Regions from separate parts of the Homo sapiens genome. Here regions 1, 2, 3, 4 and 5 are each linked to region 6. Evidence: promoter capture Hi-C in human tissues and cell types (Jung and others, 2019). All regions are on one chromosome and are shown on one strand. The core of a region is centred on a gene start or on the middle of the fragment in contact, and the rest is flanking DNA. Distances in the headings are between cores, read along the strand shown.

Region 1 (3,766 bases), core at 1,230-3,729, 450 kb after region 6:
ATGACATGGAGATGAGACCAGACACTCTTGAATTGAACAAGTTCTGGTAGTATATAATGCTTTCCAGCAGGTGGAATCCTTAAGAAAGAACCTTTCTGTGACTGTGAGAATGGGACTACCATGCCCGGCTAATTTTTTGTATTTTTGGTAGAGATGCGGTTTCACCACGTTGTCCAGGCTGGTCTTGAACTCCTGAGCTCAGGTGATGCACCCCCCTCAGCCTCCCAAAGTGCTGGGATTACAGGTGTGAACCACCGCGCCCAGCCTCCCACTAAGTCTCTTTCATTTGGCCTGGCACAGTTTCCCATGCCTTAATCCCAGCACGTTGAGTGGTCGAGGCAGGTAGATTGCTTGAGCCCAAAAGTTTGGCCTATGACCACCTTGGGCAACATAGTGAGAACTAGTCTCTATTTTATTAAAAAGAGAAATACACACACACATATTTATATACATAAAACAGGGCGAGCATAGTAGCTCACGCCTGTAATCCAAGAACTTTGGGAGGCCAAAGTGAGTGGATCACCTGATATCAAGAGTTCAAGACCAGCCTGGCCAACATGGTGAAACCTTGTCTCTAACTACCAATACAAAAATTATCCGGACATGGTAGTGCACACCTGTGATCCTGGCTATTCTGGAGGCAGAGGCAGTAGAATCGCTTGAACCCAGGAGGCAGAAGTTGCAGTGAGCTGAGATCACGCCATTGCACTCCAGCCTGGACAACAGAGCACAAACTCCATCTCAGGAAGAAAAAAAAAAAAAAAAAAGTAAAAGTTCCTTTTTTGTCCCAAGTCGTTATGGGCTATCACTACTATCACCAGTAGTTGCCTATGAAGCACACCTATTCTCACAATGGGTCCAAGAGGAAAAGTAGAAGATTTGGAGACATTCCAGGTAGATCCAAATGCAGCACGATATCATATACGATAGTATATGATTTATGTGAGGACTCTTGGGATGACTTAGCTGAGGCTGGTATAACAAAATACCATGGACTCAGTTTCTTAAACAGCAGAATTTTTTTCTCACAGTTCTGGAGCTTCGGGAGTCCAACATCTTGCTGCCAGCAATTTTGTTCCTAGTGAAGAGTGTCTTCCTGGCTTGCAGCTAGATGACTTCTTGCTGTGTCCTCACATGCTGGAGAGACAGAGTTCTCTCTCTCTTCTTACTCATCCCATTGTGAGAGCCCTCCTTTATAAATGTATGTGATCTCCTAAAGGGTTCGTGTCCAAATATGACCATGTTGGGGTTTAGGGCTTGCAAGTATAAGTTTTGTTTTTGAGACAGGGTCTCCCTGTGTGGCCCAGGCTGGTTTTAAACTCCTGGGCTCAAGGGATCCTCATGCCTCGGCCTCCCAAATACTGGGATTACAGGAGTGAGCCACCACACCTGGCCTCCAAGTATATATTTTGAGGAGAGTAAATACAAGACACGCCAAGGGGTAAACAGAAGCCCAAAAAGAGGCTTTGGAGACGATGTAATCAGACAGGACTTTATCACATAGCAGATGGGGAGCAAGAGTCACAAAGGAGTGAGGTCTAATTTCAGAATGGCAGAGAGAAGGGACATCGAGGTAGCTGTATGATTGCATGAAGGATGAAAATGCTGCCAGAGCCACTACATGGAAAAGTATTGTAATTATCTAGGAAAAAATGAGAATAAAAAAGAAAAACAAGGGGCCAGGCGCGGTGGCTCACGCCTGTAATCCCAGCACTTTGGGAGGCCAAGGTAGGCGGATCACGAGGGCAGGAGATTGAGACCATCCTGGCTAACACGATGAAACCCCGTCTCTACTAAAAATACAAAAAATTAGCCGGGCGTGGTGGCGGGCGCCTGTAGTCCCAGCTACTCAGGAGGCTGAGGCAGGAGAATGGCGTGAACCCGGGAGGCGGAGGTTGCAGTGAGCGGAGATCGCACCACTGCACTCCAGCCTGGGCGACACAGCGAGACTCCGTCTCAAAAAAAAAAAAAAGAAAAACAAGTAATCATAATGAAAATGGAAAACAGAAAATGAAAAACAGAATAACCTTGGTTAGTATGCAGTTGTTAAAGATTTTAAATAAAATATTTGTCAGAAACATGTACAGATATCTTGGTTTTAAAAAAAAAACCCTAATTGCTGAGCATGGTGGATCATGTCTGCAATCCTAGCACTTTGGGAGGCCGAGGCAAGAGGATTGATTGAGCCCGGGAGTTCGAGACCAGCCTGGGCAAAACCGTGACACCCTTGTCTCTACAAAAAATTTTTGAAAATTAGCTGGGCAGAAAGCCGAGGTGGGAGGATTGCTCAAGCCCAGGAGCTTGATGCTGCAGTGAGTGACCAGAACACTGCACTCCAGCTGGGCTACAGAGCAAGGATGTCTCAAATTAAAATAAAAGAAAACGAGGAGAAAAAGAGAGATAACTACAAATTAGTCAAATGTAAGAGGATGACTGGATACTGCTACACAGAAGATGAAAGATTATATAAGAAAAATGCTCAACCAATGGCAACAAATAAAAAGCAATAAATAATCACACAGAGATTCTGTTTAAGAGTAAATGGGCGACGAAAAGTGAGTTAGATAATTCAAAGTGTTGGCAAATCACAAGAATAAAGGCACGTGCATGAAAGGTGAGATGGTTAATTCATAAGTTACATTCATACTGTACTGACATTTCCTAGTAAATTTGAATTTACCCATAATCTACAACCCAGCAATTATTTCCCAATGTGTAAAACTTTGTGTTGTATTTCCAGTTAGGAATAAAAACAAGAAAAGCATTGTCAATAAGATCAAGAGATAGGCTGGGCATGGTGGCTCATGCCTGTAATCTCAGCACTTTGGGAGGCCGAGGCGGGTGGATCACCTGAGGTCAGGAGTTCGAGACCAGCCTGGACAACATGGTGAAACCGTCTCTACTAAAAATGCAAAAATTAGCTGAGTGTGGTTGCAGGTGCCTATAATCCCAGCTACTCAGGAGGCTGAGGTAGGACAGTTGCTTGAGCCCAGGAGACAAAGGTTGCAGTGAGCCGAGATCCTGCCACTGCACTCCAGCCTGGGTGACAGAGCAAGACTGTCTCAAAAAAAAAAAAAAAAAAGCAGGGTGTGGTGGCTTGTGCCAGCAGTCCCGGCTACCCAGGAGGCTGAGCCAGGAGAATCTGGGAGGCAAGTTGCAGTGAGCCGAGATCACGCCACTGATCCAGCCTTGGCCACAGAGTGAGATTCTATCTGAAAAATAGACAAACAAACAAATAAATAAATTCTCAGATGCGTGGGGAAAGAGCAATTCCATGGCAGCAAGATTCTGTAAAAAAACAAAAGGGAGGCAGCTCAGGTAGGCAGCCTGCCTCACCCACAGCTCACAAGGAAACCCACACTCCAATAGTTACACATTTTCAAGCTTAGGAACCACTTGGACCGTGGAGACACAGGCCAGGCTGGCCCACTCCTAGGTAGTGTGTGAAGGAAATGTGAGCAGTCAGAAAATTACTTCTGGGAATTCCACACACACCCTGCTGGCCCCTCCCCACAGTGTGGACACAGTCCTTCCACCAGGGTCTCAATGCCCACCAAAGACCACTCGCTCACTGTGAGTCAGTGGAAGGTTCTGACCTATGCTGTCTTTTTGCCTGACATCAAATGTGTGGTGCTTGCTGAACACCAATCAATTCTCCAGCACTAAGCAGTTATGTAACCATGCAATTCAGAAGCCACCCAGAGTTAGCAGAGACTCCATGAGTTCCTGGCTCACCCAACACAGCCCCACTTGGCAGATGCAAGTC
Region 2 (4,262 bases), core at 1,605-4,104, 490 kb after region 6:
ATCTCTGTGTTACTCCCCCATGGGCTGGGGTCGGACCGCACAGTCTGAGCTGACCCGATTGGCTGCTTGTACATATTTTTCTAAATATAGAAGGGGAGGGGGATGTGAGGTACAGAGGTGGAGCATGTGAGATGTGCAGTTTTGGGGGAACAATGGGTACAGGTAACCAAGGGAACAGATGTGAGTTATTGATTAGAGCTGATGGGAACGGGGTAGGCTGTTTTAAAGTAACTAGGGGCAAGGAGGAACAGGAAAGTTGAGTTTGAGAACAAAAGACGAGGAAGTTAGCAGGCTAAATCTTTAAAGAAAAACTTAAAGAAATTCACTGTATCTTACAAATCTGACCCCAGTGGCCCCATGCATGTCAAACCCCAAACCCTGCCCAGAAGACAGCCCCAGGCTCCAGAGGTACAACACCAGAAAGGACAGAACCCCCACACATACGTGTGCATGTGGGTCTTCTGCTTTCCAGGGCTCTTCAGCTTCTCGGAATCCGCACTCCTTCTGGAGCTGCTCTGAGCAATTGGAGGCCACCTGTAGGGGAGGGCGGGCTGCCCGGAAGCCCCCAGGAAAGGCTCCTTTCCCTTCCTTTGCAGGCTCCACACTGGCCTCAGCGTTGAGTCACCGGCCTCGGGCTCTGCTGCCCCCTGCAGGTTATTCAGCTACTTCTCACCCCATTGATCAGTTCCATGACACAAACACCCTCAATCCCATTGTGTGAATAAGACACCAGCAGAGTCCCTGCTCTCCTCCTATGTTTATGTATAAAGTGGGGAAGGAAAATTCTAAGATAACTTAAGTGCATTTAAAAGATTTCCAGATCGTGGTGGAGGTGGCAGCTGAGGGACGCACGTTCAGTGACACTGCAGTACCTCCGGGCCTGGCTGGTTGGAGAGAGGGTGGAGAGCTGGAGATGAATGTGGATATATGGAGGGAGCAGCCCTGGGAACCGGGCTCTGCAGCAGCGCGGCTCTAGGGCCTGGAGCCCGGGGGAGCAGAGATGATGGGGGCTCCTGGGACAGGACGCTTGGGGAGAAGAGAGTCAGGCGGTTTCCATGGGACAGGGGTGCTGTGGCAGCTGGTGTGGGCCTGTGGCTATCATAACTAAGCCCGATTGGGACGTGAAAACTTGGATTCCGTGGGAATTTATGAAGAGGAAGGCTCTGATGACAAAGAAGTCATCGATGAGGAGAGGGATTAGGGTCACTGGCAAGCTCGCCCCCTTATGGAAAGAAAAGTGAACGTTCAGCTACTGCGGCAAAATGGGGTCAAAGGATGAGACTCTCACTGTCAGGGAATAAATTGCTGCAGAACTCTTAGAGATTGCAAAGACCTTCAAACAACAGCCTGGGAGGCCGGGTGCCATGGCTCACGCCTGTAATCCCAACATTTTGGGAGGCCAAAGTGGGAGGATCGCTTGAAGCCCGAGATTGGAGACCACCCTGAGCCGTGAAGTGAGACCCTCCCATCTCCATAAAAAATTTTTAATTACCAAGGAGAAGTGTGTGTACCTACAGTCTCAGCTACTCAGGAGGCTGAGACAGGAGAGTCACTTGAACCCCAAAGTTTGAGGCTGCTGTGAGCTATAATTGGGTACTGCGCTTCAGCAAGACACTGTCTCAAAACAAACAAACAAAAAATTAAAATCCCACCAAACTCCCTGGGGAAACCCTGTACCCCTTTGATGGTCAAAGTGTAAAATACAGCAGGTGGTGACATTTCCTTATGGACTGGATCATTCTAGCCACGTAAGAGGCTTGGCCTACTGAAGATTTACCAAGCGGGATCACCTCCTTGCAGTCAGTGGAAAAAGCCCCCGGTGAAACCATCCCTTTAAACTTTATCAAATTCATCAGGGAGGATGGGAGGAGGAAAACTTAAACCAAGCTTGCGGCACCTTCAGCATTAATCATCAAGTCAGCTTGTTCTCTGACCTTCCTCATATTTGTTTCATACCTAGTGTCCTAGAATCCCATAGACCCTAAATGATAGTTCCCGTTAACTGCTCTATACATAACAATTTGAACATTAGATATTTTCCCTTATAAATATTCCTTTTTGAGTTCTGGGTGCATTGGTTCATAACTGTAATCTCAGCACTTTGGGAGGCTGAGGTGGGAGGATCACTTGAGCCTTGGAGTTCAAGAACAGCCTGGGCAATAGAGTGAGACTCCATCTGTACAAAAAATTTAAAAACAGCCGGGCATAGTGGCATGTGCCTTTACTCCCAGCTACTTGTGAGGCTGAGGCAGGAGGATCCCTTGAGCCCGAGTTTCTACAGTGAGCTATGATCCCACCACTGCACTCCAGCCTGGGAAACAGAGCCATACTATTTCTCTTAAGAAAAAAAATCCAGACATTTGTTGGTCTTTGGATTATTGGAGAGCATTTATCTGACACTTAGCCCAATGTTTTAGAAAGGGGCACTTTGGGACTGGGACACAGCTCTGAAGGAAGCTTTGGACAGGTTAATGTGTTAGTATGGCAGGCACAAGCCTCAGGCACACCTTTAGAGGGTAGAGCTGTGACTTGGGATGATATAGTTGCTGCTGAGGGTACAATTTGGGACTTACGGCAACCACAGTGTGGTAAATCAGTCCCTTTAGGATTGTGGTTGTAATTATGACATGGAGATGAAACCAGACACTCTTGAGTCAGTGCAGGCAGTATATAATGCTTTCCAGCAGGTGGAATCCTTAAGAAAGAGCCTTTGCATGACTGTGAGAATGGGAGTACCATGCCCAGCTAATTTTTTTGTATTTTTAGTAGAGATGTGGTTTCACCATGTTGTCCAGGCTGGTCTTGAACTCCTGAGCTCAGGTGATCCACCCGCCTCAGCCCCACAAAGTGCTGGGATTACAGGTGTGAGCCACCGTGCCTGGCCTCCCACTAAGTTTCTTTCATTTGCCCTGGCACAGTTTCTCATGCCTTAATCCCAGCATTTTGGGTGGCTGAGGTGAGTAAATCGCTTGAGCCCAAAAGTTTGGGCTATGACCACACGGGGCAACATAGGCCTAGTCTCTATTTTTATTAAAAACAGAATATACACACACATATGAATGAGAGGCCGAGTGTGGTGGTTTATGCATGTAATCCTAGTGCTTTGGGAGGCCAAGGCAGGTGGATCACCTGAGGTCAAGAGTTCGAGAACCACCTGGCCAACATGTTGAAACCCCATCTCTAACTAACAGTACAAAAATTATCTGGATGTGGTGGCACGCACCTGTAAACCCAGCTACTTGGGAGGCTGAGGCAGGAGAATCACTTGAACCTGGGAGTCAGAACTGGCAGTGAGCCGAGATTGCATAATTGCACTCCAGCCTGGGTAACAGAGCAAAAACTCCATCTCAAAAAAAAAAGCAAGAAAAAAAAAAAAGAAAAACTTTCTTTTTAGTCCCTAGTTGGTAGGCTATCACTAATATCACCAGCAGTTGTCTATGAGGCAAACCTGTTCTCACAATGGGTCCAAAAGGAAAAGTAGATTTGGAGACATTACAGGTAGATCCAAATGCAGCACTTGTACGACAGTATATGGTTAATGTGAGGACTCTTGGGGTGACTTAGCTCAGGCTAGTATAACAAAGTACCATGGACTCAGTTTCTTAAACAGCAGAAATTTGTTTTTCACAGTTCTGAAGCTTGGGAAGTCTGAAATCTTGCTGCCAACAATTTTGTTCCTAGTGAAGGCTATCTTCCTGGCTTGCAGCTAGATGCCTTCTTGCTTTGTCCTTACATGCTGGAGAGGCAGAGTTCTCTCTCTCTCTTACTAATCCCATTGTGAGAGCCCTCCTTTATAAATGTATGTGATCTCCTAAAAGGTCCGTGTCCAAATATGACCCTGTTGGGGTTTAGGACTTGTAACTATAAATTTTGTTTTTGAGACAGGGTCTCCCTATGTGACCCAGGCTGGTTTTAAACTCCTGGGCACAAGGGATCCTCCTGCCTCAGCATCCAAAAGTACTGAGATTACAGGCGTGAGCCACCGCACCCGGCCTCTAAGTATATATTTTGAAGAGAGTAAATGCAGGGCATGCCAAGGGGTAAACAGAAGTCCAAAAAGAGGCTTTGGAGACGATGTAATCAGACAGGACTTTATCACATAGCAGATGGGGAGCAAGAGTCACAAAGGAGTGAGGTCCAATTTCAGAATGGCAGAGAGAAGGGACATCGAGGTAGCTGTATGATTGCATGAAGGATGAAAATGCATGCCAGGGCCACTACATGGAAAAGTATTGTAATTATCTAGGAAAAAATGAGAATAA
Region 3 (4,080 bases), core at 461-2,960, 260 kb before region 6:
AAGTAGTTAAGTTACAATTCATAGTCCAGAGATGTACTTGAAGAATGAGCCAGTGATAAAAAATTTTTAACTTTTTTTTGGTGTGTGGGATGGAGTCTTGCTCTGTTGCCCAGGCTGGAGTGTAGTGGCACAATCTCAGCTCACTGCAGCCTCCACCTCCCAGGTTCAAATGATTCTCCTGCTTCAGCCTCCCAAGTAGCTGGAATTACAGGTGCATGCCACCACGCTCAGGTAATTTTTGTATTTTTAGTAGAGATGGGGTTTCACCGTCTTGGCCAGGCTGGTCTCGAACTCCTGACCTCAGGTGATCTGCCTGCCTTGGCCTCCCAAAGTGCTGGGATTACAGGCATGAGCCACCATGCCTTGCCTTAACTTTTATATCGTGTGTGATGAATTTATATCATGGTGTGAATTTTCTGGAGCATTTTACAGGCAGAGATTGCTTAATCATGGGTATATGTTCTGAGAAACGTGTTGTAGGTGATTTCCTCATGGTACAAACATCACAAAGTGAACTTACACAAATCTAGATGGTATAGCTACAACACATCTAGACTATATGGTACAGTCTATTGCTACTAGGCTATAAACCATACAACATGTTGTTGTACTGAACACTGTAGGAAATTGTAACAAAATGTTAAGTATTTATGAGTCTAAACACAGAAAATACACAGAGTAAACATGCAGTATAAAAGATAAAAAAGGATGCACCTGCATAGGACACTCCATGAACATAGCTTGCAGGACTAGAAGTTGCTCTGGGTGAGTCAGTTGAGTGGTGAGTGAATGCGAAGGCCCAGGATGTTACTGTACACTAATGGAGAATTTATAAACACTGTACACTTGGACTACACTACATTCATAAAAACATTTTTTCCTCAATAATGAATAAACCTTAACTTACTGTACATTATTTTCTTTATAAACTTATTTTTAAAAACTTTGTAATAATTTAGCTTAAAACACATTGTACAGCTGTACAAAAATATTTTATGTCCATATTCTATAAGCTTTTTCTATTAAATTTTTTTAAACTATTTTTGTTAAAGACTAACTAAGACACAAACACACATTAGTGTAGGACTACACGGGGTGAGGATCATCAATATCATTGTCTTCTGCCTCCATGTTTTGTCCCGCCAGAATACGTTCAGGGGCAGTCCTGCACATGGAGCCGTCATCGCCTATCATAACAAAGTTTTTCCGGGAATATCTCCTTAAGGACCTGCCTGAGACTGTCTTACTGTTAAAAAAACACAGGAATACATTCTAAAACAGGATTGTAAATATATAAACCAGTAACTTAGCCATTTATTATCAAGTATATATTGCACATCTGTGCTGTAATTTTTTTTTTTTCGAGACGGAGTCTCGCTCTGTCACCCAGGCTGGAGTGTAGTGGTAGATCTCAGCTCACTGCAATCTCCACCTCCCGGGTTCAAGCGATTCTCCTGCTTTGGCCTCCCAAGTAGCTGGGACTACAGGCACACCAGAACGCCCAGCTAATTTTCGTATTTCTAATGGAGACAGGGTTTCATCATGTTGACCAGGCTGGTCTTGAACTCCTGACCTCAACTGATTCTCCCACCTCAGCCTCCCAAAGTGCTGGGATTACAGGTATGAGCCACTGTGCCCAGCCAATTTTTTTTTTTTTTTTTTGATACAGTCTCACTGTCACCCATGCTGGACTGCCATCACGTGATCTTGGTTCACTGTAGCCTTGAACTCCTGGGCTCAGGCAATCCTCCTGCCTCAGCCTCCCATGTAGATGGGACTACAGGGTGTGCTACCACACTTAGAAAATGTTTTTATTTTTTGTAGAGACAGGGTCTCACTAGGTTGACCAGAGTAGTCCTGGCATCAAGCAATCCTACTGCCTTAGTCTCCCAGTGTTGGGATCACAGGTGTGACCATGCCCAGCTGTGTTGTACTTTTTTTTTTTTTTTTTTTTTGAGACAGAGTCTCGCTCTGTTGGCCGGATCTCAGCTCACTGTCAGCTCGGCCTCCTGGGTTTATGCCATTCTCCTGCCTCAGCCTCCCAAGTAGCTGGGACTACAGGCGCCCACCACCACGCCCGGCTAATTGTTTGTATTTTTAGTAGAGATGGGGTTTTACCGTGTTAGCCAGGATGGTCTTGATCTCCTGGCCTCGTGATCCGCCCGCCTTGGCCTCCCAAAGTGCTGGGATTACAGGCGTGAGCCACCGTCCCCGGCCGCTGTCTTGTACTTTTATACAACTGAAAGTGCAGCACGTTTACACCAGCACCATAAACACTTAAATAATGTGCTGCACTATGGTGTTACTACTGCTACTAAATTGCGGTTGATAGAAATGTTTTAGGTGTTATATAATCTTATGGGGCTACCAACCTATATGGTCCATTGCTGACTGAAACATGATTATGTGGTACCTGACTATACATGAATCATCTTGTATCTCGCTTTCTATATTACTTACATTGACAGGATTTCTCTCTTCAGTGGGAATTTTCACAACTTTGAAAGCATCTGTTAGAATTGAAAACTTTCTCCTATTTCTCACATTTATAGAGTTTCTATCGATTGTGCATTCTCATATGTTTTTTTAAGGATGTGGACACACTGAAGGCTTTTCCACATTGCTTACATTCAAGAGGTTTCTCATAATTGTGAATTCTTGTATGTCTTTGAAAGGAACTGTGAAGACTAAAGGCCTTCCCACATTCTTTACATTTATAGGGTTTCTCTCCAGTATGCATTCTCATGTGTCCTTGAAAGCTTGTGGGATAAATAAAGGCCTTCCCGCATTCCTTACATTCATAAGGTTTCTCCCCAGTGTGAGTTCTTTTATGTATCCGAATGTAACTAGAACAACTAAAGGCTTTTCCACATTGTTTACATTCATAGGGTTTCTCTCCAGTGTGAGTTCTTTCATGTGTTCGTAACGCACTAGGAAAAATGAACACCTTCCCACAGTCCCTACATTTATAAGGTCCGTCTCCAGTGTGGGTGATCATGTGTCTTCGAAAGTTCTCAAGAGAAATGAAGGTTTTTGCACATTCCTTACACTCATAGGGTTTTTCTCCAGTGTGATTTCTCTTGTGGATTTTCAAATCTAGAGGATAATTGAAAGTTTTCCCACATTTTTTACATTCGTAGGGTTTCTCTCCAGTGTGAGTCCTTTCATGTATTCGAAAGTAACTGATTCTACTAAAGGCTTTCCCACATTCTTTACACTTATAGGGTTTCTCTCCAGTATGCACTCTCACGTGTACTCGAAAGGCTGGGCGTGCACTGAAAGATTTCCCACATTCTTTACATTTATAGGGCTTCTCTCCAGTATGAATTCTTTCATGAATTTGAATGGAGGTGGAACATCTGAAGGCTTTACCACATTGTTTACATTTATAGGGTTTCTCTCCAGTGTGAATTCTTTCATGTACTCGTAAAAAACTGGGAAAAATGAATGCCTTTCCACATTCTTTGCATTTATAAGGTCTATCTCCGTTGTGTGTTATCATGTGTGTTAGAACACTTGTGTGGGAAATGAAGGCTTTCCCACATTCCTTACATGCATAGGGTTTCTCTCCAGTGTGAGTTCTTTCGTGTACTCGAATAGAACTGGAACAACTGAAGGCTTTCCCACATTGTTTACATTCATAGGGCTTTTCTCCAGTGTGAATCCTTTCATGAACTCGAAGCGAACTGGAACAACTAAGAGCTTTTCCACATTGCTTACATTCATAGGGTTTTTCTCCAATGTGAGTCCGCTCATGTCTTTGAAAGGGCTGGTGATATATGAAGGTTTTTCCACATTGTTTACATTTATAGGGTTTTTCTCCAGTGTGACTCCTTTCATGTCTTTGAAAGGATTTGAGATAACTAAAGGCTTTCTCACACTCCTTACATTTATATGGCTTCTCAAATAGCTCGTATCCAGTGTGAGACCTCATGTGTCTAGTAAGGGATGAGAGACGCATGAAGGCTTTTCCACAGATAGTACACTCATATGGTTTTACTCCGGCAGTCTTCTTCGTCACACTGAGATTGGGACTGAAGTTTTCTGCACATTGACTACCTTCTTTACCTTCACAGAGTC
Region 4 (3,878 bases), core at 184-2,683, 410 kb after region 6:
TCTTTGGCTATTCCAACACTGTGCTTGCATCCTGTGGAAAGTCACATTTGGGGTCAAGTGGATGGTGGTGTTTCTACTCTTTGGTGAAAAGTATCAGGGTGCATTTGGCCTTCAAGGCAGAAGGATGAGACAGGGGTTAGATCCAGGTGCACCCAACTCTTTTTTAATTTTTTTTGTGTGTGTGTGATGGAGTCTCGCTCTGTTGATCAGGCTAGAGAGTGCAGTGGCGTGATCTCAGTTCAGTGTAACATCTGCCTCCCAGGCTCAAGTGATTCTCCTGTCTCAGCCTCCTGAGTAGCTGCGATTACAGGCACACACCACGATGCCCAGCTAATTTTTGTATTTTTAGTAGAGATGGGGTTTCACCATGTTGGCCAGGCTGGTCTTCAACTCCTGACCTCAAGTGATCCACCTGCCTCAGCCTCCCAAAGTGCTGGGATTACAGGTGTGAGCCACTGCACCTGGTCAGGTGCCCCCATCTCTGCCACTGCCCTGTCTTCCCTGCTGTGAGTCACTTTGTGTGATCTGACAATCAATGACTCCACCCTTCACTGATGAGGATGCATTATCTGAGACTGGGTATGTCATCTCCACACACAGATAGGGTTTGGTCAATGATTGATGCTGCATCCTTTGGTGCCTGGATTTTGACAGTGTTTTTTAAATAAGGGTTTCTGAAGAGCAGCTTCATTGGTACCTTAAGGGAAGTGACTGAATTGTTCTATGCCATTGCATAATATATAAAAGTTACTTTTCCACGTTGCTGTTAACTTTACACTGCTGAGATAAGCAGGCTGTTGACAAGTTAGCATCAACAGCACATTATCAGAGAAAGAAAGGCTTGTATTCAGACAATTTACACAACTGTATTAGCTTCCTATGACTTAGTAAAACAATTTGAAAAAATATAGCTTTATAAGGCATAAATGAATTTGTATGTTTTAACTAAGGTACTTTCTAGTAAACAGTGCCCATACATTTTAGGAAATATTTTAGTCTTTAGAGAATAAGTAAGGCAAAACCCGGTCCAAGAGTCTAGAGCTGACCTCCCCTCATCACAAGGCCAAGTCTTTTTTTTTGAGATGGAGTTTCACTCTTGTTGCCCATGCAGGAGTGCAATGGCGCCATCTTGGCTCACTGCAACCTCTGCCCTCCCCCGAGATTCAAGCGATTCTCCTGTCTCAGCCTCCTGACTAGCTAGGATTACAGGAGCATGCAACCACACCTGGCTAATTTTTGTAATTTTAGTAGAGATGGGGTTTCATCATATTGGTCAGGCTGGTCTCAAAGTATTGACCTCAGGTGATCCGCCTGCCTCAGCCTCCCAATGTGCTGTGATTACAGGCGTGAGCCACAGTGTCTGGCCAAGGCCAAGGCTTTTACCATTGGAGAGACACAAGTCACATACCGGGCATATGAGACGATGCTCCTCAGTGACCATGATGGATCAGGACAAAAAAAGAGAATATTTTATAACTATATTTCTAAATGTGATAAAAGAAAACATATTTCAAATCATAAACATGACCAAAATTTTTCTCTTCTTACTAATGTGACTTGTAATTCTCATACATCCCACAGTCATTTATGACTTGTGGTCATATTTACCACTACAGTATATTACACCCTTGCTGACAGCAGGTATGGCACTGGTGGTTTTGGGGAAGAAGGCACTCAGAGGTATATGAGATAACTTTTGGCATAATGAGTGAATGAAAAATTAGGGTTGAGGCCGGGCCCAGTGGCTCATGTCTGTAATCCCAGTACTTTAGGAAGCCGAGGTGGGCAGATCACGAGGTCCGGAGTTTGAGACCAGTCTGGCTAATATGGTGAAATCCCATCTCTACTAAAAAAATACGAATACTAGCTGGGTGAGGTGGGGCACGCCTGTAGTCCCAGCTACTCAGGAGGCTGAAGCAGGAGAATCACTTGAACCTAGGAGGCGGAGGTGGCAGTGAGCTGAGACTGCGCCACTGCACTCTATCCTGGGCGACAGAATGAGACTATCAGAAAAAAAAAAAACAAAAACCAGCAAAATTAGGGTTGAGATAAAAAATAAGTACATAAGCATGAAAAGTAAAATTTCTTTCTTTTTTTTTTTTTTTTTTGGAGATGGAGTCTTGCTCTGTTGCCAGGCTGGAGTGCAGTGGTGTGATCTCTGCTCACTGCAACCTCCGCCTCCCAGGTTCAAGCGATTCTCCTGCCTCAGCCTCCCGAGAAGCTGGGACTACCGGTGCGCGCCACCATGCCCAGCTAATTTTTGTATTTTTAGTAGAGACAGGGTTTCACCACGTTGGTCAGAATGGTCTTGATCTCTTCACCTCGTGATCCGCCTGCCTTGGCCTCCCAAAGTGCTGGGATTACAGGCGTGAGCCACTGTGCCCGGTGCAAAAAGTAAACTTTCCATGAGGAAAAAGATGCCTGGCATTTTATCCACATGGTAATACTGACTCACAATGTCCAAATAATAACAATGTAACATTATAAGCTTGATCTAATACATAAAACCAATGGGATATTTTATTATACCTTCTTATTTAAAAAGAATAACATGTTAGTATACTTATGATAATTGTTTACATTAATTATCTGTATTCAAAGAATCTTGGCAGATCTGAAGGCTTTCCCATACTGCTTACATTCATAGAGTTTCTCCCAAGTGTGAACCCTTCCATGCCGTTGAAGGTGCGAGGCACATCTGAAGGCTTTCCCACATTGCTTACATTCATAGGGTTTCACTCCAGTGTAAGTCCTTTCATGATATCAAACGGAACTAGAATACACTCATAGGGTTTCTCTCCCGTGTGAGTCCTTTCATGACATTGAAAAGAAGTAAAAGGAATGAAGGCTTTCCCACACTGCTTACATTGATAGGGTTTCTCCCCAGTGTGAGTCCTTTCATGATATCGAAAAGAACTGGAAAATGTGAAAGTTTTGCCACATTGCTTGCATTCATAGTGCTTCCTTCCAGTGTGAGTCTATTCATGTCCATAAAAGGAACCAGGCTAGCTGAATGCTTTCCCACAATCCTTACATTCATATGGCTTCTCTCCCATATGAGTCCTTGCGTGTATATGCAAGGAAGAAAAATAATTGAATGCTTTTCCGCATTCCTTACATTCATAGTGTTTCTCTCCAATGTGTGTTCTTGCATGTATTTGAAGAATCTTGGCAGATGTGAATCCATTCCCACAATGCTTACATTCATAGGGCTTCTCTCCTCTGTGCTTCCTTTCATGTATTTGAAAAGAAGAGAATTTACAGAATGCTTTTTCGCATTCCTTACATTCATAGGGTTTCTCTCCAGTGTGAGTCCTTTCATGCATCTGAAGGTTTGAGGCAGATCTGAAGGCTTTCCCACATTGCTTACACTCATAGGGTTTCTCTCCAGTGTGAGTCCTACCATGCTTTCGAAGGTTTGAGGCACAACTGAAGGCTTTCCCACATTGCTTACACTCATAGGGTTTCTCTCCAGTGTGAGTCCTTTCATGCATTCGAAGGTGTGAGGCAGATCTGAAGGCTTTCCCACATTGCTTACACTCATAGGGTTTCTCTCCAGTGTGAGTCCTTTCATGATATCGAAGGGAATTGCAACATCTGAAGGCTTTACCACATTGGTTGCATTCATAGGGTTTCTCTCCAGTGTGAGTTTTTTCATGTGTTTGAAATGACTTGGCAGAATAAAAGCCTTTCTCACATATACTACATTTATAAGGTCTTTCTCCAGAGGGCATTCTTATGTGTTTTTCTGTCCTTTCATGAATTTGAAGGTGCTTCACATATCTGAAGGCTTTCCCACATTCCTTACATTCATAGGGTTTCTCTCCAGTATGAGTCCTACCATGCACTCGAAGGTGTGAGGTAGATCTGAAGGCTTT
Region 5 (4,202 bases), core at 764-3,263, 380 kb after region 6:
CAGGAACTACAGGCAAGTGCCACCATGCGCAGCTAACATTTTTTGTTAATGAGGTGATGTATCACCATGTTGCCTTGGCTGGTCTCACTCCTAGCCTCAAGCAATCATCTGGCTTTGGTCTCCCAAAGGGCTGGGAGTAGAGGTGTGAGCCACTGTGCCTAGCCTATGTCACATTTAAATATTATGTTTTTAGAGAAAATTTTCTAAGAGTAAATAAATGTGATGCTGGTCTTATTTCTTTTATTTGCATATTTTAAACATTTTCAGCCGGGCACAATGGCTCACGCCTGTAATTGCAGCACTTTGGGAGGCCAAGCCAGGCGGATCACCTGAGGACAGGAGTTCGAGACCAGCCCGACCAACATGGAGTAACCCCATCTCTACTAAAAATTCAAAATTAGCCAGACGTGGTGGTGGGCGCCTGTAATCCCAGCTACTTGGGAGGCTGAGGCAGGAGAATCACTTGAACCTGGGAGGCGGAGGTTGCGATGAGCCGCGATTGAGCCATTGCACTCCAGTCTGGGCAACAAGAGTGAAACTCTTGTCTCCAAAAAAACCAAAACATTTTCAGGCAGTATAAGATTTTCTAGAGAGAGAATGCTTTATCTTGTGAGGGAAACTTACCTTAGATTATTCCTGAGATTTTTGTACTGATCTTCAATGATCTGGTCTTTCCATTTTTTTCTTAAAATACAGATCCATAAAAAATAGTCCTGATTATAAAATTATGGGGTTTTTTTTGGAGATGAGGGTCTCACTCTATCACCCAGGCTGGAGTGCAATGGCATGATCACAGCTCACTGCAGCCTCAACCTCTTGGGTTCAGGTGATTCTCCTACTGCAGCCTCTCAAGTAGCTGGGATTACAGGTGCATGTCACCATCCTGGCTAAAAAGTTTGTAGAGATAGGGTTTCACCATGTTGCCCAGGCTGTTCTCAGACTCCTGGGTTCAAGTCATCCACCCACCTTGGCCTCTCAAAGTGCTAGAACCACAGGCATGAGCCACCATGCCCAGCTATTATAAAATTAGTTTAAAAATTATTAGATTCTATGTTCATGGCTCACTGCAGCCATTCCTGATTTATCAAAGTTTTCCCTGTCCATATTCCAAATCACTGAACAGCACTGAAGAGCTAGAAACACTTGTTCTTTAATAAACTGAGGGAAGTAATATTGTCACGTGATAGTTTGAATGTATGTTCCCACCCAATGTCATGAGGAACTGCAATCCCCAGTGTTGGAGGTGAGTCCTGATGGGAGTTGTTTGGGTCAGGGGGACCTATGGCTTGTTTCTCTCATGGCTTGTTGCTGTCTTTGTGATAATCAGTGAGTTCTAGTGAGCTGCACCTTCCTACACCACTCTCTCTGTCTCACTCCTGCTTTCGCCATGTGACTGCCTGCTCCCCGTTCACCTTCCGCTATGATTGAAAGCTTCCTGAGGCCTTCACCAGAAGCTGAGCAGATGCTGGTGCCATGCTTCCTTTACAGGCAGATGCCAGGCAGACGTCACTGTGAATCACTGTGCCCAGCAATGAATAATTCTTTACAAGGGGACAAACCCTGTCTGGACATGGTGACTCATGCCTGGAATCCTAGCACTTTGGGAGACTGAGCTGTGAGGACTGCTTGAGACAAAGAATTAGAGAACAGCCTGGGCAACACAGCATAATCCTGACTCTATTACTTAAAATTCTAAATAAAAGTCTGAAAAGCAGCATTTCCCACCTATTCTCTCTGAGGGAGCCTTCATCTACATAACAAGGTCTCCTTTGCTAGCCAAGCTTCTTCCTTTCCTTTAGCATAATCTGTCTTGCCATTAAAAATGACTTCCCCACCAAACCTGGAATTTTTTTGGCCATGCCAAGTCTGCATTTTTCCTGGCCTCAGAATGGTATGTAAGCTTTTTTGTCTTATTGTTGGGTGGGTCCTCATTCTGAAGGCTCCCATATATACATGTTAAATAAATTTGTATGACTTTTCTCCTATTAATTCGCCTAAGTTCCTTGATCTGAAAATTTTTTTCCTGTTTTCTCACCTTATTTTATTAAAAAAAGTTCAAAAACAAGCATATCTAAAAATGAGCATTTTCATATCCCAGAAATCAAGGTATTTTCCATAGATAACCAGAAAATGCTATTTAGTAATTGCCTAACATCAACACAGAGTGATATTAAAACCTTATTGTGTAAAGTGGAATTCTGGAAGCTTAGCTTTGAATACATTTCATTTTGTCTGTGAAACATTGAAGAGTGTGTGTGGTGTTATGATATGTATTGGTTTTCATCCAGGGTAATAATGTTGGGTGTGTTAGACCTCTGGGGAAGGCCCCTGACCTGCTGCCCTCTTTCCACTCTAATGTTTCCCCACCTTTTTGATTGTGGGTCTTAAAACCCTCCCATGAGAGGGTCCCACTGACTTCATGAAGACTTTTAGCCTTGGAAATACTCGTGATATTCCCTATCTGTAGCTGTGTGTCTGAAGTTAGCTCAGAATAAACCACAAGTGTGTAGATTGCTAAAATAACTTACTTCTAAACACTGAAACTCAAAAACTGCAGATTTCTTTGTCTAAGCAGATGCAGAAAAGCAGAAGTTATAAAGCATCCGGACTCAAACAGGCACCATCACTGCCTTCTAAAATTAGTAGCCTTCCTGGCATATGAACACCCTTTGGGCCTGTGCTCCAGTGTCTCTTTGGGTTGGTCCTTGGGCTTTTTGTGAAACATCAAGACACCTCCATAGTCTAGGCCAATGTCAGGCTCTCCAGTGTGTCCTGTTCATCACCCTCACCCTGCACTTTCATTGTCACTGTCATTGGCCATTCCAACATTGTGCTTGCATCCTGTGGAAAGTCACATTTGGGGTCAAGTGGATGGTGTTGTTTCTACTGTTTGGTTAAAAGTGTCAGGGTGTATTTGGCCTTCAAGGGAGGATAAGGCAGGGGTTGGATTCAGGTGCACCCAACTCTTGTTTTTTTCATTTTGAGACAGAGTCTTGCTCTGTCGACTAGGTTGGAGAGTGCAATGGTGTGATCTCAGTTCAGTGTAACAACCACCTCCCAGGCTCAAGCGATTCTCCTGCCTCAGCCTCCTGAGTATCTGGGATTACAGGGATTACACCACGATGCCCAGCTAATTTATCTATTTCTTAAGGTTTCACCATGTTGGCCAGGCTGGTCTTGAACTCCTGACCTCAAGTGATCCACTCTCCTTGGCCTCCCAAAGTGCTAAGATTACAGGTGTGAGCCACCGTACCTGCTCAGGTGCCCCCACCTCTGTCACTGCCCTGTCTTCCCTGCTGTGAATCATGCTGTGTGATCTGACAATCAATGATTCCACCCTTCACTGATGTGGATACATTATCTGGGACTGGGTATGTCATCTCCACACACAGACAGGGTTTGGTCAGTGATTGATGCTGCATCCCGTGATGCCTGGACTTTGACCTTAGGGAGTTTTAAATAAGCGTTTCTGAAGAGCAGCTTCATTGGAACCTTAATGAAAATGAATTTTTCCATGCCATTGCATAACATATAAAAGTGACTTTTCCATGTTGCCATTAACTTTACATGGCTGAAATAAACAGGCTGTTGACAAGTTAGTATCAACAGCACATTATCAGAGAAAGAAAAGGCTGTATTTAGACAATTTACATTATTATTGTAATTTATTAGCTTCCTGTGACTCACTAAACCAACCTGAAAAAAATAGCTTTCTAAGGTATAAATGAATTTCTATGTTTTACCCAACGTACTTTCTGGTAAACAGCACCCATACATTTTATGAAATATTTTAGTCTTTAGAGAATAAGGCAAAAACAGCTCCAGGAGTCTAGAGCTGACATCCCCTCACCACAAGGCCAAGTCTTTTTTTTTTTTTTTTTTGAGACGGAGTTTTGCTCCTGTTGCCCAGGCTAGAGTGCAATGGCACAATCTTGGCTCACTGCAACCTCTGCCCCCCAGATTCAAGCGATTCTCCTGTGCCAGCCTCCCAACTAGCTAGGATTACAGAAGCAGGCCACCACGCCTGGCCAATTTTTGTAGTTTTAGTAGAGACAGGGGTTTCATCATATTGATCAGGCCAGTCTTGAACTCCTGACCTCAGGTGATTCACCTGCTTTGGTTTCTATCCAGTGTGAGTCCTACCATGTTTTCGAAGGTGTGAGGTAGATCTGAAGGTTTTTCCACATTGCTTACACTCATAG
Region 6 (4,362 bases), core at 1,664-4,163:
GAATTATTGTCCCATTTGGTGAAGGGACTTCTCCGTCGTGGATCCTGCCAGGTTATACATTAGTTGCAGTCAATCTTGTAGTCTGTTGCGGGAACTAAGGGACCCCGAATGGAGGGACCGGCTGAAGCCACGGCAGAAGAACATAAATTGTGACGATTTCATGGACATTTATCAGTTTCCAAAATTAATACTTTTATAATTTCTTACGCCTGTCTTTACTGCAGTCTCTGAACATAAATTGTGAAGATTTCATGGACATTTATTAGTTCCCAAAATTAATACTTTTATAATTTCTTATGCCTGTCTTACTTTAATCTCTTAATCCTGTTATCTTCGTAAGCTAAGGATGTATGTCACCTCAGGACCCCGTGATGATTGCATTAACTGTACAAATTGTTTGTAAAACATTTGTATTTGAATGATATGAAATCAGTGCACCCTGAAAAAGAATAGAATAACAGCGATTTTCTGGGAACAAGGAAAGATAACCATAAGGTCTGACTGCCTGTGGGGTTGGGCAGAATAAAGCCATATTTTTCTTCTTGCAGAGAGCCTATAGACGGACATGTGAGTAGGAGAAATATCACTGAATTCTTTTCCCAGCAAGGAATATTAATAATTGAGACCCTTCCAGGTGTGGTGGCTCATGCCTGTAATCCCAGCACTTTGAGAGGCCGAGGCGGGTGGATCACAATATCAGGAGATCGAGACCATCCTGGCTAACACGGTGAAACCCCTTCTCTACTAAAAATACAAAAAATTAGCCGGGCATGGTGGCACGCGCCTGTAGTCCCAGCTACTTGGGAGGCTTAGGCAGGAGAACAGTGTGAACCCAGGAGGCAGAAGTTGCAGTGAGCCGAGATTGTGCCACTGCACTCCAGCCTGGGGGACAGAGCGTGAGACTCTGTCTCAAAAAAATATATATAATAATAATAATTGAGACCCTGGGGAAGGAATGCATTCCTGGGGGTAGGTCTATAGATGGCTGCTCTGCGAGTATCTGTCTTAATGCAGTTGAGATAAGGACTGAAATACGCCCTGGTCTCCTGCAGTGCCCTCAGGCTTACTAGGATTGGGAAGTTCCAGCCTGGTAAATTCTAGTCAGACTGGTTGTCTGCTCTCGAACCCTGTTTCCTGTTAAGATGTTTATCAAGACAGTGCATGCACAGCAGGACACAGACCCTCATCAGTAATTCTAATTTTGCCTTTGCCTTGTGATCTTTTATTGCCCTTTGAGGCATGTGATCTTTGTGACTTACTCCCTGTTCGTACACCCCCTCCCCTATTAGAATCCCTAATAAAAACTTGCTGGTTTTGCAGCCCAGGTGGGCATCATGGAACCTGCCGATATGTGATGTCACCCCTGGAGGCCCAGCTGTAAAATTCTTCTCTTTGTACTCTTTCTCTTAATTTCTCAGATGGGCCGACACTTAGGGAAAATAGAACCTACGTTGAAATATTGGGGGCTGGTTTCCCCGATAGTAGTCACTCTTCAGCTGGGTGTGGGTTCTGTCTTTGAAGTAATCTTTTGTTGGAAAGAGAATTCCAGAGGTGCCTGGTACCTAACAAGATCCAACCCCTGAAGCTTCTAAGGAAATATATGACCAAATAAGAGAGCATGGTGTGTGCTTAATAAGTATTTAGGTAAATAAATGTGCACAGGCCAGGCGTGGTGGCTCACGCCTGTAATCCTAACACTTTGGGAGGCCGAGGCCGGCGGATTGCCTGAGCTCAGGAGTTCACGACCAGCCTGGGCAACATGGTGAAACCCTGTCTCTACTAAAATACAAAAAAATTAGCTGGGCATGGCAGCGTGCACCTGTAGTCCAGTGTGCTACTCGGGAGGCTGAGGCAGGAGAATTGCTTCAACTTGGGAGGCGGAGGTTGCAGTGAGCCAAGATTGAGCCACTACAGTCTGTCCTGGGTGACAGAGTGAGACTCCGTCTCCAAAAAAATAAAATAAAAATAAATGTGCATAAGGCATGGCAGTGTAGTATGGGAAAGGAAAGGGAGTGGAAGTTCACAGCACATTCTGAGGCTGTATTTTAAGATGAGAGGTAACATCTATGCAGTTTATCTCGAAGTTATTATCTTGAGATCAGGAGGGGAAAGAGGAAAAGGGAAAGAAGAAGAAAAAAAAGGTTTAAAACGTGGTTTGAGACTCAGCTGCTAAGCTGCTGGTTACACACTCTGGGACTCAACTTCAGGAGTCAGAATCTGCCTTCTAAGCTTGAAAATATGTTTAACCTCCTGAAAGGGGGTTTCCTGCTGAACTGTGGCTGAAATTTCTCTGAACTAATTCAGGTTTTTTCTTTTCCCTTCTTTTGATTCCTTTATAGAAGATTACTGCCATATAATTCCAGATTTTCCATGCATTTAACAATTTTATTTCATTGTTGATGTGTTTTTATTTTCTGGTCTGAGAATGAGTAGATTGGGAGATAAGGTGGGAGAAAGGCTTGACCATGGAGCCAGCAGTCTCATCCTAAATTCCTGATCCCTGGAGGACACCAGGCCTTCCCTCCTGCTTCAGTGTGGTTTGTGTGGCCTGGGCCTCCCCTACCGCTCTGAGGCCAGGGGATGGCTCCACTGGGCAGTGAGTCTCGAATTCCCAGCACACACTTGTGGGTCCCCGTCCAGGAAGAAGGAGCAGGAAGAGCCCATTGAGTACAGGCAGGAAATTCCGCTTAAATGCAAATGTCCCCTGGGAGGGGTCAGGTCACAGCGAAGGGAGGAAGCCCACCCTATCAAGGGCTGTGTCTGGAACCGCTTCATCTCGCTCCACTCAGCCGTGTAAGATCCTTCTTCTGTCAATCAGTTCCCTGGGGGGGCGGAATTTGGAGCTCTACCCAATCAGTGTTGGGGGCGAGTTCTTGGGAACTGCCAGTCAGGCGCGCTGCCGGGAGGAGGGTGGAGCTTTCTACACCCCTCTGAGCTCCCGCTCCTGGCTCTGTAGCTGAGAGAAGCCCTGGCAGGTCAGTGGCAGGCACTGTCACGCTGAGTCCTATGCTGGCAGCGGGGAACCTTGGGGAGAACACGGGACACCGCGGAAGCCGGGAAATGGTGAGTGTGCGGGGCCCGGCGTCCTGGGGCAGGGCGAAGGACTGGTTGGAACCGGCCAGAACCGGCTGTGGCGGGACCCGGGCGTCCCCGCGGCGACTGCGGGGTCTGTGGACCCGAGTTCCCCTGGCCCAGCCGGCCTTCAGTCCCCTCGGCCGCGGGGTGGGAGCTGGGGGCTGGGCCGGCAGCCGGGACCCCGGGCGTCCTGTCCCGTTTCTGCGCAGCAACTGCGGCCCCGGCTCCCGCGCCCTCTCTGGGGCAGCTCCATGCCCACAGCTCCGCGTCTTCCCAGATTGTGCGGCTGTAACCGGCACAGGTTCGCGGTCCGAGTCACTGCACCGAGACTCCAAGGCCTGCAGCAGAAACAGTTTAATAGGGGGAGAGGAGAGAAGACCCCAGTTCCGCCTCCATGAGAGGTTTGGGGATGGGGGTGTTTAGGGGTCTGGACAGGGGCGGCTGAAGTGTGGGGTCGCTGGTTGGTGGGGAAGTGACAGGCGAATCCTGGGACGGGAGGTGAAGAAACCGCATTCTCCTGCTGAGTGGGTTCCCTCGTGGGGTTTTCACCCTGCTTGGCGCCAGCCTTTCCGTTGGAATTCAAGATCTGAGAAAGAACTTGGGCAACTCGAGCAGCTCTCCGAGATCTTATCCCCAGGCACAATGCAGAAGCCGGCGGTCAGTGTCTTCTGTGACCTGACTCTCAGGAAGGCGGCCCCCGCGAGGCAGTGGGGCTCAGGGTACCTGGTTAATATCTAACTGCAATCAGAATCCAGATTCTTGCGTGGGGTTTGTGCACGGGAGGAGCTGTGGTCTGCGGGGTCCCCAGTCCCTTCTTTTCTTCCCAGGGTGACTGATTCCTCTTCGAGTTTTTCAGAGATGGGGGTAGCAGGGTCTCAAATCCACTACCCTGTTCCCTCATTCTAACTCCTCCTAGGGGTGGTAGTAACTCCCTTGGTTTCCAGAGCCTTACGCAGGCTAACTTTCCCTCCTCAGTTCACAGCAACATCATGAACTCCTCCCTCCTCCGCCCCACCCGTGCTAAATTTCAGAGTCCCAGTATTTTAATTTTCATTTTGTTTTCAGAGAGCAATGGATGGCTTCTTTTTTTCTTTCTTTCTTTTTTTTTTTTTTGAGATGGAGTTGTGCTCTTGTTGCCCAGGCTGGAGTGCAATGGTGCGATGTCGGCTCACCGCAACCTCCGCCTCCCGGGTTCAAGAAATTCTCCTGTCTCACCCTCCCGAGTAGCTGGAATTACAGGCACCCACCACCACACCCGGCTAATTTTTTGTATTTTTAGTAGCGACG

What was found. The method cuts DNA at HindIII sites, captures the fragments that hold promoters and counts their contacts. A contact is called where the count stands out against the background at its distance.
Region 1: a contact is called between a fragment that was not itself captured here and the fragment with the promoter of ZNF442 in region 6, in 7 of the 25 tissues and cell types used here (adrenal gland, aorta, dorsolateral prefrontal cortex and 4 more).
Region 2: a fragment that was not itself captured here is called in contact with the fragment with the promoter of ZNF442 in region 6 in 2 of the 25 tissues and cell types used here (dorsolateral prefrontal cortex and spleen).
Region 3: a fragment that was not itself captured here is called in contact with the fragment with the promoter of ZNF442 in region 6 in 4 of the 25 tissues and cell types used here (dorsolateral prefrontal cortex, heart left ventricle, lymphoblastoid cells and 1 more).
Region 4: a fragment that was not itself captured here is called in contact with the fragment with the promoter of ZNF442 in region 6 in 2 of the 25 tissues and cell types used here (IMR-90 fibroblasts and mesenchymal stem cells).
Region 5: a contact is called between a fragment that was not itself captured here and the fragment with the promoter of ZNF442 in region 6, in 4 of the 25 tissues and cell types used here (IMR-90 fibroblasts, lymphoblastoid cells, mesenchymal stem cells and 1 more).

Annotation. Positions count from the first base shown.
Region 1 is chr19:11,917,106-11,920,871 of GRCh38, reverse strand. It overlaps a transcript of ZNF69 not described here. Among named protein-coding and RNA genes, the nearest start is that of ZNF700, 6.1 kb to the left of the region's middle. The HindIII fragment of the contact is 7,505 bases long and covers 1-3,766 here.
Region 2 is chr19:11,876,438-11,880,699 of GRCh38, reverse strand. No RefSeq gene overlaps it. Among named protein-coding and RNA genes, the nearest start is that of ZNF69, 9.2 kb to the left of the region's middle. The HindIII fragment of the contact is 3,977 bases long and covers 866-4,262 here.
Region 3 is chr19:12,627,738-12,631,817 of GRCh38, reverse strand. ZNF791 (zinc finger protein 791) reads right to left here. Exons shown (of 4, transcript NM_153358.3): 4 at 1-4,080. The coding sequence ends at 2,558. Among named protein-coding and RNA genes, the nearest start is that of ZNF791, 19 kb to the right of the region's middle. The HindIII fragment of the contact is 6,065 bases long and covers 1-4,080 here.
Region 4 is chr19:11,949,381-11,953,258 of GRCh38, reverse strand. ZNF700 (zinc finger protein 700) reads right to left here. Exons shown (of 4, transcript NM_144566.3): 4 at 2,496-3,878. The coding sequence ends at 3,006. It also overlaps a transcript of ZNF69 not described here and the pseudogene VN2R21P. Among named protein-coding and RNA genes, the nearest start is that of ZNF763, 14 kb to the left of the region's middle. RefSeq lists a silencer at 3,341-3,570. The HindIII fragment of the contact is 4,503 bases long and covers 1-3,684 here.
Region 5 is chr19:11,980,062-11,984,263 of GRCh38, reverse strand. ZNF763 (zinc finger protein 763) reads right to left here. Exons shown (of 4, transcript NM_001367172.2): 4 at 3,647-4,202. It also overlaps a transcript of ZNF69 not described here. Among named protein-coding and RNA genes, the nearest start is that of ZNF433-AS1, 5.5 kb to the left of the region's middle. The HindIII fragment of the contact is 4,224 bases long and covers 1-4,125 here.
Region 6 is chr19:12,364,234-12,368,595 of GRCh38, reverse strand. It overlaps ZNF442 (zinc finger protein 442), which reads left to right and starts at 2,913. Exons shown (of 6, transcript NM_030824.3): 1 at 2,913-3,063; 2 at 3,353-3,794. RefSeq lists an enhancer at 3,000-3,099 and a silencer at 3,200-3,379. The HindIII fragment of the contact is 16,775 bases long and covers 1,908-4,362 here.